2 separate regions of the Homo sapiens genome follow, and region 2 is linked to region 1. The links are contacts of gene promoters, found by promoter capture Hi-C in blood cells and fetal thymus (Javierre and others, 2016). All regions are on one chromosome and are shown on one strand. Each heading gives the region's core, a stretch centred on a gene start or on the middle of the fragment in contact. The rest is flanking DNA. Distances are from core to core; before and after follow the strand shown. Region 1 holds the start of CALML3 (calmodulin like 3). Region 2 has its middle 10 kb from the start of CALML5.

Evidence for each region. The method cuts DNA at HindIII sites, captures the fragments that hold promoters and counts their contacts. A CHiCAGO score of 5 or more calls a contact.
Region 2: a fragment that was not itself captured here is called in contact with the fragment with the promoter of CALML3 in region 1 in 1 of 17 cell types (megakaryocytes); the score reaches 6.0 in megakaryocytes.

The regions. Positions count from the first base shown.
Region 1 is chr10:5,521,169-5,528,584 of GRCh38, forward strand. CALML3 (calmodulin like 3) reads left to right here and starts at 3,793. Exons shown (of 1, transcript NM_005185.4): 1 at 3,793-5,603. The coding sequence starts at 3,918. The coding sequence ends at 4,367. It overlaps CALML3-AS1 (CALML3 antisense RNA 1), which reads right to left and starts at 5,078. Exons shown (of 3, transcript NR_120497.1): 1 at 4,965-5,078; 2 at 748-961. RefSeq lists enhancers at 4,098-4,797, 4,798-5,498. The HindIII fragment of the contact is 11,209 bases long and covers 1-7,416 here.
Region 2 is chr10:5,485,443-5,492,858 of GRCh38, forward strand. No RefSeq gene overlaps it. Among named protein-coding and RNA genes, the nearest start is that of CALML5, 10 kb to the right of the region's middle. The HindIII fragment of the contact is 863 bases long and covers 4,461-5,323 here.

The sequences.
Region 1 (7,416 bases), core at 2,543-5,042:
ATATAAAAATATACTTAAATATTTAAATATTTCTTGGTTTTAGTTGCAAACACAGTATATATATATATATATATATATCCCACATAAACACAAGCTCTTTGGAGTCCCCAATAATTTTTAAATGTTTAAATGTATCCTGAGACCAAAATAATATCTATTCTGTAGGGAAAGGAGTTGCTATATTGGGGTGAGAGGCTGCAGGGAGAGAGTTAAACAGAAAATAAAAAACATTCCCTCTGTCACAGTTTCCCAACCAGCGAGTTGCAACAGTATGGCCCATCGTAAGGCGGTCCTGGTCCTCTGTGAGTCACTTTGCACTAAGCAACGCTGTTTAAAATTCTGAGTCCTCTTTTTTTTTGAGACAGGGTCTTGCTCTGTCTCCCAGGCTGGAGTGCAGTGGCACGATCTTGGCTCACTGCAACCTCTCCCTCCCTGGTTCAAGTGATTCTTCTGCCTCAGCCTCCCAAGTAGCTGTAGCTGGGATTACAGGCACCACCCACCATGCCTGGCCAATTTTTGTACTTTTAGTAGAGACCTTTAGTAGAGGTTTCACCATGTCAGCCAGGCTGGTCTCGAACTCCTGACCTCAAGTTCAGGCCTGCCTCGGCCTCCCAAAGTGGTAGGATTATGGGTGTGAGCCACTGCACCTGGCACTGAGTCCTCTTTCAGTGTGCCTTTTTGAGAAGGACATTTAGGTAAAAGCTAATGTTTGAGCCACAGAGCCATGACCCAGAAACCAGCAGTTACCTGTTGGCTTCTCATCCTGGTCGTTGGTCAAGTGGGCAGGAGGTATGACCGTATTCCTGTCCTTGTCCATCAGGGCACTGTCTCAGGCCAGGTTTCCCCCTGATGCCATCCGGGGCTCTCCAGAAGACTGTGTCAGCCACATGTCCGAATCCCTTGGTGCTCCTGTCTCCTGTGACTGTCCCTGTATTCCTTCATGAAGAAGTCTCTCCAGCCCCTAGGCAGGGAAAGTAGAAGAAAAATGCTTCATAGCATCTTTTCCACTAGATGGTCACTCTGGCAGTCAAATAGGGGGTGTGGTTATTGGCTATTAATTATTCTGCTTTTCTATACATAATAATAGCTATGCTCACCATAGTCTCATATCTCTGAGAGATATAAAGCTGACAATATTACCAGGCCCTCCACATTACCTAACCTCAGAGAAAGAGAAAGAATATTGGGAGTTCAGTAAGATATGGAATATTTTTTATCAGGGATGGTTTTTGAATCTTCAGTCATTTCCCCTAATAATAGAAATGATATATGGCAAATATAAAACATTTTTAAATGAGCAAAGATACTACATTTATAAGAAAATTAAAAGCACTTATAATCCTATTATCCAAAGTATCCACTATTAAGAGTTTGGTACATGATTATCTAGGCGTTTCTTCTGTGAATGTATATAAATAAACATATATAAATGTTTAATACATGAAATCATATCACATATACAGTTTTCTATCTGCTTTTTAAAAATTTTCCATGGAAACCTTTCCATTGTTATATCCTCATCCTCATTTTAAAGGCTGTGTATTATTTCATGGTGTGGAGGAAATTTCAGGTATTTGTTACTAACCTGCTATTTTTGGGTATTCGGGTGATCTAGAGCGGAGATATTTAAATATTTTTAAAGTGCGTTTGGGATATGAATTCTAACACTCAGGCATCAGGCACCAGTGTACAATCAAGAGCCCTTCTCAGAAGGTGACAGAAGGTCCCCATGTCCCAGAATTAGCCCCCAAAAAACCCCAAAATAAAAAAGGGACCTTGATCCCCAGCTGAACTTTTCATGGGGTGACCTTGAGCAAGCTGTGTGTGCAGCCTTTGCTGGGTCTCCCCACCACAAAAGAGATCTCCAGAATATTCGAGGAAGGGCGGGGCTCCCAGGAGCAAAGCACACACTCTTTCTTGCGCAGCCCCCTGTGGACAGAGCTGTAACCTGGGCCCAGGGCATGCTCCCAGCCTGCAAATGGAGATGCTGCCTCATTTTTCTCTCTAAATCTAAACTTTATTATCAGCCCCTCTCCTACCCCAGGGAGTCCTGGCCAGCCCATCTCCCCACTCCCCTAGAGCTGTTGGGGTGTGAGGTCTCAGGCAAGGCCGAATATTCTGGGGTGAGAAAGGAGGGGAGGGTGGGATCTGGTCACCAAAGTGTCACCCACACACGTGGCTTCCAAGATGCCCATCACCTCGTTCCCTCCACGCCACCCCTGGGCCCCAGGGCTCTTTGCCAAGGCTGCCTGTGGCCACCACATCCCTGAGCCCTGCTGCTCTGGGGTCCACAAACTTCTCTTCTAAGGAAAAGATTCCATGGGGATGGAGGGATTCTTCAACCTTCCTGCTTCCTCCTGCCCAAACCCTCAGGACACAGGCTTTGTGGGAGCCCTCAGGTAGGAAGGAAGGTGTCTTGCAGGTGGCTTCAATTTTCCCCCTACCACAGACCCCCTCCAGACCAGAAGGACACACTTGCCTCTACTTGAATAGAGAAGGGAAGGAAAATCAGAGAGAAAAAAAATGAATATCCGAGCCCTTCTCCTGCCATAGTCTCTCCTCGGCAAGTCCAGGTCCTCAAAAGGACACTTTCTTTCCCTTTCCGGTCTCTACCCCACCCCCACACACCCAGCAAAAAATAGAGTGGGCTCCATGTTTCTCCCCCAGTGTGGATTTCTTGGATTCCCACAGGTGAAGCGCCTGCTCCTGCCTCTCTGGGGGTCATGTCTCCAGGCCCCCTGGGAGTGGGAGCCGAGTCTGTGCTGTGAACACCCCACTATCCCCCTAAGCGGGTCTCCTCTGGGAGAGGCCGCTCCACAGCCCCAGCTCCATGCTGCCCGGAGCTCCTGGGGCAATGTGGACCAGAGAATGATAGTGGGACTTCCTGGCTGAGCCCTTCAAGGTCTCCTTTGTCTCTCCTCCTTGTCCCCTCCCTCACAGGCCTGCAGCCCCACTGATCATCTTCCAGCCCTTGGCCCTGCCATGGCCACTCCGGCCTAGACAGCTGCTTCTCAGCAGGAGGTCTGTCCTTGACCAGGCTGAAAGGTGACCTCGGGGTCCTGTCCATCACCACCTTGTATGTCCATCAGCATTTATCAATAATCCCTAGTCACCTTGTTTGCATTCCTCGATCAGTTGACCTGCAAACTAGCTGTCTTGCTAGTTAACCTCACGAGGACTGGGGGTGGCTTGCCGGTCCCACTGTGTTCCCAGCTTCCAGAGTGACACTGCACCTAGTAGGCACTCAAATATCTGTGAAAGGGTGGATGAGTGAATGGGTTGGAGGAAACCCCTCCCTATTCATGTCCATTCTGAAGATAAGAAAACTCGCTGCTTCTACCTGAAGGGAAAACCTTCCTCCTCCAAAAACCCTCCTGTTCTATATGAGGCTTTAGAAACCAAAGGCAAGGACGTTTCTTTCATCTGCCTTTCATCCTGCAAAAAGCCCTCCACTCAAGGGAAGAAAGGGCACTGGAGTTTATTGAGTGGGAGACAGGCGGCAGGTGGGAGACGGGGAGGGAGGAGAGAAAGGGAAATTCAGGAGGAAGGAGTCCAGCGTGGATTGCTCCAAAGCTCACCCACCACGCCCTGACTGCAGGTGTGATTCGGGGCCCCCGTGGCTCTGCTGGGTCCAGGTGCAAGCAGGCACAGAGGTGCTGGCGTCAGCTCGATTCGCAGGCCCTGGACTCCTGTCTAAACAGGACAGGCCCGGGCAACCGCAGGGCAGGGGCGTCTGCCAATGATGGGGGAGGACTCTGCTGCTTCTTAAGCTCCAGCGTCTCAAGCCAGGGCGAGACAGCCCGCCGGCCGCCCGGATCTCCACCTGCCACCCCAGAGCTGGGACAGCAGCCGGGCTGCGGCACTGGGAGGGAGACCCCACAGTGGCCTCTTCTGCCACCCACGCCCCCACCCCTGGCATGGCCGACCAGCTGACTGAGGAGCAGGTCACAGAATTCAAGGAGGCCTTCTCCCTGTTTGACAAGGATGGGGACGGCTGCATCACCACCCGCGAGCTGGGCACGGTCATGCGGTCCCTGGGCCAGAACCCCACGGAGGCCGAGCTGCGGGACATGATGAGTGAGATCGACCGGGACGGCAACGGCACCGTGGACTTCCCCGAGTTCCTGGGCATGATGGCCAGGAAGATGAAGGACACGGACAACGAGGAGGAGATCCGCGAGGCCTTCCGCGTGTTCGACAAGGACGGCAACGGCTTCGTCAGCGCCGCCGAGCTGCGACACGTCATGACCCGGCTGGGGGAGAAGCTGAGTGACGAGGAGGTGGACGAGATGATCCGGGCCGCGGACACGGACGGAGACGGACAGGTGAACTACGAGGAGTTTGTCCGTGTGCTGGTGTCCAAGTGAGGCCGGCGCCCACCATGCTCCTGGGCGCCCACGCGGCCCACAGGGCAAGAACCCGGGGCCTCCCGCCTCCTCCCCCATCCCCCTGCCTCCCCTGGGCACTGTGGCTTCCTCCTGCGCCTGGTTGATTCAGCCCACCTCTCTGCATCCCGCTTCCCGCGTCTCTTCTCTGCACTCCTGCCGACCTTCCCACCTGCTCGTCTGAATGACACGGAACGCTCCCACTGCAGGCAAACCGTGACGCCCTCCCCACTCGGGAGAAGCAGAGCTGACCTTAGGACCGAGCACCAGGGCAGGTTGCGCTGACTCTGCGGCCCTCCAGGACGGACACCGGGTGACCCCTTAGGGCACCCAGGCAAGATCCCTAAGAGGCACCCAATGCCCAGGCCAGGGGGGCTGCAGCCCTCAGCCCCCGCCAGGATTCCCGCAGGCTCCTGGACTGGAAGCTCCCTCCGCGGTCGGATTCTGGAGGGTGGGAGGCATCTTGGCCTGCAGTAAGCGGTGCTGACGGGGACTCTGGCCACAGAGGTCAGGCCTCCTGAAAACAGCACTGCCTTCCGCGCTGCCCCAGCTTGCCCCATTCCTTGTCCGCCAACCCACCGTGATTCATCTTCTGAAGCTGGGAGTGAAACTGGGTCAGCTGTAACCTGTTCCTATTCATCTGGAAGGAGGGAGGCTTGGATGAGCAGGGGATGAGAGCTGCAGGGAAATAAATGAGATATTCGTCCTTATTTCATTTCCTTTTTTTTTTTGGTTTCCATGGAAATGATCCTTGTTAAATTCAGGGTTGAAACGAGGCAGGAATCTCCATTTTTGTGCTTTTTGAAAATGCAATGAATTCCTATACGGGGGAGCGGGAAAGGTGCCTCAGAGAGAGACAAGTCTGGATGAGGGAAATATTGAATATTCTCAATCAAATGGATACGCTGGCAGCAAAGAGTGGTTAAAAGTCCATCAGGACTTGAAAGACCTGAGTCCATTACGTTGAGAAGGGACCTGCTGATTGCTTTGATTCCCCCTGGCAAGTGCTCCCTGGTTGTGAAGTGCCAGGCACTAGAGATGGTGAGGGGTTGGGGGGCAGTTGGGCACACACAGTGTAAGAGCAATTCAGAGCCGTTAGTCCTGCACTAGCCCTGCAAGCTGCTGGCAACACCTAGAGAAGGTCGAAGGGGCCCTGCCAGAGATCCCTTCAATTCTAAAGGGAGGTATGTTTTGCGGGATGGGCACTAGACGGAGCTCATCAGAAAAGGCCATGGTGGATGTATCCTCTCTCCCTGACACCCCACCCCCGCCCACCAACACCCAGTGTTTCCTCCTTTGTAAAACAAAGAGCTGGGCCCCAGCCCCGGCCTTGCCATCATCACTGCACCACTGGGACCTCCAGGATGACAGGACCCTCATGCCACCTGCTTGGGCTCAGGGCACCATCAAGCACTTGGCCTGCATAGACAATTGGCACCTCCCTATGGGGCAGCCACTATTATTACCTTCCTCATCTTACAAACGAGGAAGTGGAGACACAGAGGGCTTTAGAAAGCAGCCCTGGGTCCCACCAGTGGGTAAGAGGCAGACCTGGGATTTCAGTCAGGTCTGTGCCCTGACCACTCAGCTACAGGTCTGACACCAACCTGTGCCTCCATCATGGTAACTACGGTAGCGCCTCTCTCCAGCACTTGTGAGGAGCCAGAACAACATTCTTAACACACCTGGCATGTAGTAGGTGCTTAATAATGGCAGCTACTGTTACCATCACCTTCAAGATCCCTTCCTGCTCTAATACTGCAAGACTGTCCAGGGTAGTCACCCCTCTCCATAGCTCGAGAACAAGACAAGAGCAGAAAGGGGCAGAAGCAGGTGCTCTGGGGCTGGATTCCTGAGGGGATGCTGGATGGTGGGGTGTCAGGTGAGCACTGGCCCAGGGCCGGTGTAACTGCAGGTACTCCTGTCAGGGGAACAGAAGCAGAGGGCAAGCTAAGGCTCAGCTTGCTGAGCAAATCCCCACCCCTCCCTGCCACTCTCAGGAGTCGGGGTTGATTGGACACGTCCTGGGGAAGATTTGGGAACAAGCCTCATAAACACATGGACAGAGTGTCTAGAGTTCATTGGGCAGCAGCACCCCAGGGGGTGGGGGGCTGTGAGCAGGAGGGGCAGGCAGAAGCCCCCACATGGCTGCTGACCGCCAGGCAAAAGGAATAGTACATCAGGCCTGAGTACCTTTTGTAGAATGTCTCCTAAATTCTGCAGGAAGGAGAGAAACCAAGGTCTCCCTGCACAGGGCATCTTTGTAGTCACTGTCATACACGTGGCTGAGGTTTGACATCTAAGCCCCTTCTTCCCAGGTGCAGGCTTGAGGCTCTTACAAGGGTTGGGACCTACGCACTGCCAATGCCTGGGCCAGGAGGGCACGCCAGTGTCTTTATTTGTCTTCCTCCCAGCCTCCCAGCGATTCCGCCAGGGCAGGTCTTTTTGCAACCCCACACACCAGTCATTCTGGAGCCACCTGGGCCTGGATTTTGCAGGTGCTGGGAGCCTTTCATCAAGAGCTCTTTGTGCTCAGGCAGGCACTGGCTGGGGTGGTGGAAAGGTCCTACCTGCTCTCAGCTTAGAACTGGCAGCCCCAGATCCTCCCTGAGGGGGAGTCCTCAGAAGCAGAGTAGTAAGTGGAGGTGTCTTTTTTTTTTTTTTTTTTTTTGAGACAGAGTCTGGCTCTGATCCCCAGGCTGGAGTGCAGTGGCGTGATCCCAGCTCACTGCAACCTCTGCCTCCCTGGTTCACGCCATTCTCCTGCCTCAGCCTCCCGAGTAGCTGGGACTACAGGCACCCACCACCACGCCCGGCTAACTTTTTATGTTTTTAGTAGAGATGGGGTTTCACCGTGTTAGCCAGGATGGTCTCGATCTCCTGACCTCGTGATCCGCCCGCCTCAACCTCCCAAATTGCTGGGATTACAGGCATGAGCGACCGCGCCTGGCCGGAGGTGTCTTCTTTATACAGACAGAAGCCAGAGGCAGCAAGGTCAAAGTGCGTCCTGTGGCAAAGGTGAATGACCCCT
Region 2 (7,416 bases), core at 3,642-6,141, 35 kb before region 1:
CAAGATGAAGTCCAAGCTCACGTCCTGGTGGGGTGGGAAGCGTGGGTGGATGGAAAAAAAGGCAAAAATGCCTAACTGTGATGGATGCTCTGCAGAGCTAAGAGGGGTCTCGTAGTAAAGGGGGACAGGCTGATAGCTTTTATTAGAGATCGAGTCAGCGTCTCTGAGGGATGACGTTTATGCTGCGAACTCGGTGACAAGACGGAGCCAGGCAGAAAGTCCAGCTCAAGCTGCATCCCCGAGGCAGCAGCAGACCACCTGCCCACTCCTTCTGCCTGCCCACTGCTTCCTCATGCCCCACCTTCTGCAGCTTTTAGTCCCAGGCCGCCTGGCAGACTTCTCTGCAGATCTCAGGCTTCTCCCAAACAGGCCAACCCCAGAAGGGTGTCTGCCCCTGGACAACCATGCCAGGAAGGAGGCACATTGGGCTATTGAGATAACTCTAAAGGCAGAACTTTCAGAATTGAACATCAGTGACACTGAGAAACGAGGATCAGGAGGCCCTGTGAGCAGTCCAGCCCCTCCCCACAGGCATCCTCTCCAAGGCACCAGTCCACTTGCTTCCCAGCAGAAACATCCCAGGTCCAAAGGCAGGCAGAGAGCCGGCCTGGGAAGGGGCTACTCTGCACCCCAAAGTCTCCAGGAAGCCCCAAACTCACCCTGAGCCTGCAACACCCAATTATCCAAATGGTCTTCAAAGCCTCAGATGCTTTACAACCCAGTCCAGCAGCCTCTGACCCTCAATAGTATCAGCCCCAAATCCTGTGTGCTCAGAGCCTCCCAAGGCTTCCAGTCCAGCACCCTCCCCGACCTCGGCCACAGCTGTCACTTGTGCCCATGGAGCGCTAGGGCCCGGCACTGTGCCTGCAGATCACTGGGCTCCGTGTGTTTTGCTGCGGGAAGAAAGGGAAGGAGGGAGAGGAGGGAGGGAGAGGGTAGCTGGGGCAGGGAGACTGAAGGAAGAAGGGCATTAGCAGCTGTCACTCCTGGAGCGCTGGCCTCTCTGGAACGGGGTGCTCTCTGTCTGCATACTGGGGGCAGCGTCTTTCCTCTTCCTCTTCTCCTCTTCACAATGTCTGACAGTCCACACATCCAAGAGGGAAGGAGAGGGTTTCCAAGATACCTCAGACTCTGTGTGGATTCAGATTCTGCCTTGAAGCTGGTGGAGCTGGAGATTAGGAAGGGCCTGGGCCTGCAGGCGGAGGAGAGGCAGCTGTCCCTGCTGACTCCCCTCTCCCTGACCCTCCCCTCCTGGTCAGCACCTTCCTGGCTTGAGAGGAGTCCAGGACTTTCCTTTTCTCCAAATTCTGGAGACAGGCAGGCCCCAGGGTTAGAAGCAGCACCTTCTACCCTGTTCCGATCACAGCCTGAGTCTTGGACAAGGGCTCCTCCGGCTCTCAGTGGCTCCAGGATTCTGAGAACTCTGACATGCTTCCACCATCTGACAGGCAAGAGGCCAGATGGGCCTGGTTGGCCCACCCTCCCGATGGTACCAGCAGTAACTCTGACCCGGCAGGGTGTGGACACGGCTCAGCCTGGTGGGGCTGGAGTCTCTCCCGTCCCCTGCTCACTCCCCTCCCACCTCGTCCAGAACTGCTCAAGGCCCCGGGGTTACTAAGTCAGGCCCTGTCCCTCCAACGCCTTCCTCTCTGCTTCCCCTCCCCACGTCCCTTCCTTTCTCTGCTGACTGCCTCCACCTTCCCTCCTGTCCTAATCAGCTCAGGCTTAGGTGGCCGAATCTGCCTCCTACAGGGCCCATCTCCCTTGCCCTCCTTCATACCACACATCACTGCCAGCATAAGCTTCCTAAAGCACAATTTGGCCGCACGTCCCCACAGGTTAAAAACCTTCCGTGAGTCTCCATCTGATCTTCTGGGGAAGAAATAGCACTAATCTTGGTGACATTATGCAAAACACTTCTGCGGCCCCACAGACGCTGTTCTTAGCACTTTCTCCACATCCCCCACCCCCCACCCTCCTCACAACCACGTTGAGGCGGGTCTCACTGTTACCCCCAGCTACAGTTGAGGAGACTGAGGCAGAGAGAGCCACTGACTTGCCCAAGGCCATATCACCAGGCTTCACTGGGACTTGAAAAGGATCCAGACTCCTTCAGCAAACCATCAGGCTGTCTGCGACGGCATTCGGACCTCTCCCTTACCTCCCAGGCAGCGCGGGCTCCCCAAAAGACACTGACGCTCCCACTTCCAAACCGTCACTCATGCAGTTTCCTCACCAAGAACGCCCCACCCCTGTTGAAATCTGCCCCCGCCTCAGTGCCACTTCCTGGAAGTCTGTCCCCTTCTCTGAGCACCTCCTCGAATGGGAATCCACTGACGAGGGACCTGACCCACTGTCTTTGCATGGCCATTTATGTTACATCTCCTGGGCCCAGAGGCCGGCGCAGCGTCTCCCTCCAAGTCCCTGCAGACTCACAGTAAGGAGAAGCACCCAAGGAAACACTTGTAGAATAGTGAGTGAGTGAATGAAAGTCACCAACACCTCCTCCATGAAGCCACGACCACAAGGCTCCCGGTGCAGGAAAATACTGTTCATCAAAAGCACTGAGATTTGTTTTTGTTTGTTTTGTTTTTGTTTTTGTTTGAGACGGAGTCTTGCTCTGCCGCCCAGGCTGGAGTACAGTGGTGCGATCTCGGCTCACTGCAAGCTCCGCCTCCCAGGTTTAAGCAATTCAACTGCCTCAGCCTCCTGAGTCGTTTGGATTATAGGTGCCTGCCACCACGCCTTAATTTTTGTATTTTTAGTGAAGATGGGGTTTCACCATGTTGGCCAGGTTAGTCTCGAACTCCTGGCCTCAAGTGATCCACCTACCTCGGGTTTCCAAAGTGCTGGGATTCCAGTTGTGAGTCACCGTGCCCGGTCCAAAACACTGAGATTTGACTTCTTCCTAGGCCAAAGGTCATCTGGGCAGCAAGGCAGGAGCTCCCGGATCAGGAAAGTGCAGGCACACCATGTCTCTGAGTGGTGGGGTGGGGACAGAGGCTGGCAGGCCACCAACAGGGCAGCATCTGCTCCCAACCAAGGTGACTCAGACCTCGCCTTGTCCAACCTGCAGGCCTCCCAACAGTGGGGCTCTATAAGGCTGGCGTTCGCCTCCAGGGTTCTCCCCGACACTGGATGCCAACCTGCCCAGGGGCAGAAGGGAGGTTGGGCGTGGGGAGTGCCGGGTACAGTCAGAGTTGCCAGGACAGTTTGGAGCAGTGCCTCTTAATCTTGGCCGCACAGCACCTGGGAGCTTTAAATAGACCCCCACGCCTGGGCGCCCCCACCGCTGACCCACCAGGGCTCAGTGCAGGGGGATGGCTCACACGGCACATTCTCCAGAAGCTCCTGGGGTAGCTTCCAGGTGCAGCCGGGGTTGGGAATCGCTGGCTTATGCAACCCAGCAGAGAGGCGGGAAAGGCAGAGCTGAGATCGGGTGGGGCCACCTGTGGTGGGGAAAGAGATGAGCTCACACCTGGAGATGGTAAACAGTGCAAAAGCAAGAAGAAGCTTACAGAAGGAGTCGTTGGGCCTTTGCCCCAGCTGCAGCCACGTGAGAGGGAAGCCAGGGGAGGAGCAAGGTGCAGGCATCTGTGGGCTGGGCAGGGCCTGACTGCACTGGGCCCAGGCTGGGAAGGCCTCACCTGCTTCTCCAGCGGGAACGGAGGGCGACCTGCGCAGCCTAGGCACTGCGGCCGTGGTTCACATGCAAAAACTAAAAGCTGGACTCATTTCCAGAGAAACTGAGATAGAATACTCTACCTAAATTGTTTCTGGAACACATGATCACCATACCTGTTGGGAATCTGTTCTTGATGAGTTTTGTTGTTGTTGTTTTTATAAAAGGGGGACCCACTGTGGAGAGAGAAACAATGGCTTGAACTCTTAAAAGCTGGTCTTAGAGGTCTGGAGTCCACATCTTTGACTACCTGGCAGGGTGACATGCCTTTGATTCTCCCTATGTTTGGACCAAGAGGGGATGAGTTGGGATTTTGTGATCATACGAGGACTATTTTCATGGTTCTTGGACAACAAAAAGAGAGAACAAGACAGGAGTCCTCTCTCTGCAGTTGCATTTCTGACTCTTCCTCTTGTTGCAGAGTACAACTCTGTGAAGATTTCCTTTAATCCCATCAGCACTACGGAAGCCATCTCCCCCATGCTGGAGATGAGGCCTCCCGGGCAAAGGAGCCTGCCAGGTCGTGCCATCACAGTGCATGTGGAGGGTTTCATGCAGAATCCAACACACTTGAGGAGCCTGTCATCTAGTTTAAGCATTGATGGGCTTTATTTCACTATTCAGGGTTCTGAGGATGGAGAATAGGCCTTGTCCACTAGGAATGACGTAAGAGGTGCACTCTGGAAGGAACTGTACAAATAGGGAGAGATCACCTTCAGCCATTTGCTTGGAAAAGAGGTGCAGAGGAACCCCCTCTGCGCCAGGCCCGGCTGTGGAAAGCTTCCAAAAGCAGGAGGCATTTGATGTGGAACTTAACAGAAGGATTGGGTCACCAGGCCTACCAGGATGGATATAAACTAGGATTTAAAAGATCCAGGGGGCAATCCAATGAAGAAAATGTATTATTTCGTATATGAAATTTGAAACATGTATTTGGATCAGAAGTAGAGTAATTCAATCTACCGACAAATCAATCTACTGAAGAACCTCTTGGAAGATTTGGGGGAAGTTTTGCTTTACTTGAAATTAGTTTTGGTTTCCCCAATGCTGTCCCACCCAAGTCAACTCCAGTAGCTTCATGAGTGCAGTTCTCCCCTGCTGAATGTCAGTTTCATGTGTGATTCATATTTCAGACTCCAAGCACTTACCAAATACTTAAACCACTTGCAAAATATCCATTTGATTGAGCCAGTGAATAAATCAGTGAATTGAAAGAAGTACTAAAGCAATAGATTTAAGTTGAAATTCTATTAGGGGAAAGAAAGCTGCCAATCTCTAAAATCCTGGACGTTGAAGACGTGTCCAATGGCTGAATCTTGAAATGAACCAGAAGCTCTCTTTCTCCAAAACCATTGAACCAAAATGCTAAAAATGAAACAACAAAACAAAAACAGACAACTTTAAACACTGTCAGGTTATGGTACAATGGTTAGGTGAACTGACTGCCGCTAAAATAATTTACTAAAAGTAGAACTGAACAAAACTAAAAATTTAAACTCAGTAAATAAAACGTCAAAGAAATAGTCAACAACTTAGAATAGCTCATCCAATATGAATTTCTGTGATCTTTATTAAGTATCCTTTAAAAAAAACTTTTTAGTAAGTTGGGAAATACCAGCACGTTTACCATTTGCAGAACTAAGCTTCTGGCAAGTCAATTTTCAGAGAAGCAGCTTTCAAAGAACTGGGTTTTCCTAAGTGACCTGAAGCTGCGCCAGCTGCTCGGATGCTTCCTGGGCTCTGTCTACTCTCTTTGGTGTTCTGAGCTGAGACCGGGCACCCTTGTGGACCCAGACGTGGAGCATAGCCTGGTCTCTGCCCTTGAGGGTCTTCAAGGCCATTCAGAGTCGGCAGAGAGGCCATGTCTGTGCATCTCTCGTAACTCACAGTCACCAGCTTCCGGAAGACATTCCACTATGTGGGTCCCAACCAACCCCACCACCAGACCCCCACCTCAAAACCAGTCCCTGGGCAGAGTATGCCCAGGAAGCACCCCTTGAAGGCAGTCCCCTGACCCCCTTCTGAGCCCTTGAATTCCACTCCAGGTCCTTCTTAGCACCTCGCTCTAAGACCTGAAGTGAGCCACTTCCTCTCCAGTCCCTCAAGTTCCCTTCTTCGTCTCTTGGGACAGTAGATTCAGAGAATCTGCTGCTTTCTTATTGCTTTGTGGCCCCATCAAAGCCCTTCTTAAGAATGGGCTCAACAACAATGAACAACTGGCTTAGAACACCCTGTCTCTGTTATTCTGTCTGCCCCAGACAGGTCTTCTGCCTCCCTAGGCTGTCTGAGTGGCTTCACTTCTCTCCTTCCTTAATGCTTCTCTGATTGCCCATTCCCCAGACCTCCAAATCAGCACAGAGCTTCCTGCCACAGCCCTCTTTGTAGGGGGCTCACCCCTGCCCCCCTCCCTGGGTCCAACTGCCAAGGCCACAGCCCTGGCATGGGCACCCAGACTCCCTGATGCCAAGTCGGCCACAAGCCTGGAGCAGGCCTTGGCTCTGGGATTCCAGACTGTATTCCCATGACATGATGGATGTTCTGAGAGGGACAGAATCGCCGAACTCAGGCCGGGGATCCTGTCTCTCCTTCACTGTTCTTCACTTAGACCCTCATACCCGGGGCAGTGTGTGTGGCTGGGGACTCATGAGTCACACCTGCTGTGAGCACTGAGCACCTGCTACGTGGCAGGGGCTGCACTGGGCCACGTGTGGACTCCACAGGCAAAGGCCACCTTGGGACATGCTCACAGCAGCACGCTCCAGAAGCCTGGGCTCTTCAGTGGGCTCTGAGTGCTTTCTAGTACCTTCCACAGGCAGTGTACCCAGTGCTAGTGTCACAGCACCCAGTAGCCCAGGTATTATTATTGATCTCATTTTCCAGGTAAGAAAACCGAGACTCAGAGAAGTCAAGGTATTTGCTCAAGGCCACATGGACAGCGGATCTGGGATTTAATTCCTTCTCCATCTCATTCTGGAGGCTCCAGGGGTGACACAACCATTGAATGGAATATGATCAGCCACTAAAAGCAATGGCGTGGGTCTCCATTATTTTCACAAGGAAAGGTGTCCACAATACAGCATTAGATAGAGAATGGTTACAGAGTCATCTGCATGATGCCATTTCTGGGAAGGAAAAGTATGTAGAAATAGAAGTATGTGAGTGGATAGAAAAGGAAAAAAAAAAAAAGGCAGGGTATGTTCCAAAATATTTACACATGGTCTTTGCTTAGAAAATTGTTTCCATTTTATCCTGCTGTCTATGCTTGTGTAGGTGAGCATTGGACTGACAATTCTGAAGTGCCTTCCTGATGACCAGTGTGACCTTTTCCTTCCCAAGAACTATGTTTCTCTTGCTCCTCGCCTCCCCACCTTACACAAGGCACAGCTGAGCCCAGACAGGGGAGGCAGCTGACCTAAAACCACCCAGCAGAGCACGTCCCAAGCTTCAGGCCTGGAGCCCAGGAGTCTTGACTCCACACTCACGGGGGCCTGGGGCCTGACCAGACCAGTGAGGCCTCTGACCCTTCACTGCCTGAGAGAATGTGCCCCAGCCTGTGAGCAGCTGCCCCCGGGCCCTCCTTCAATACCAGTCCTAGGTAGAAAGGCTGATGGTGGCCCAGGAGGAGGGTCTGGGCTTGGCCTGGCCACTGCAGGAGACTCCAGGGTTCACCTTTCCCCTTTGCTCCCACCACCTGGAATCCCTGCTGCCTGAAGCACCCCCACTATGGCATCCCT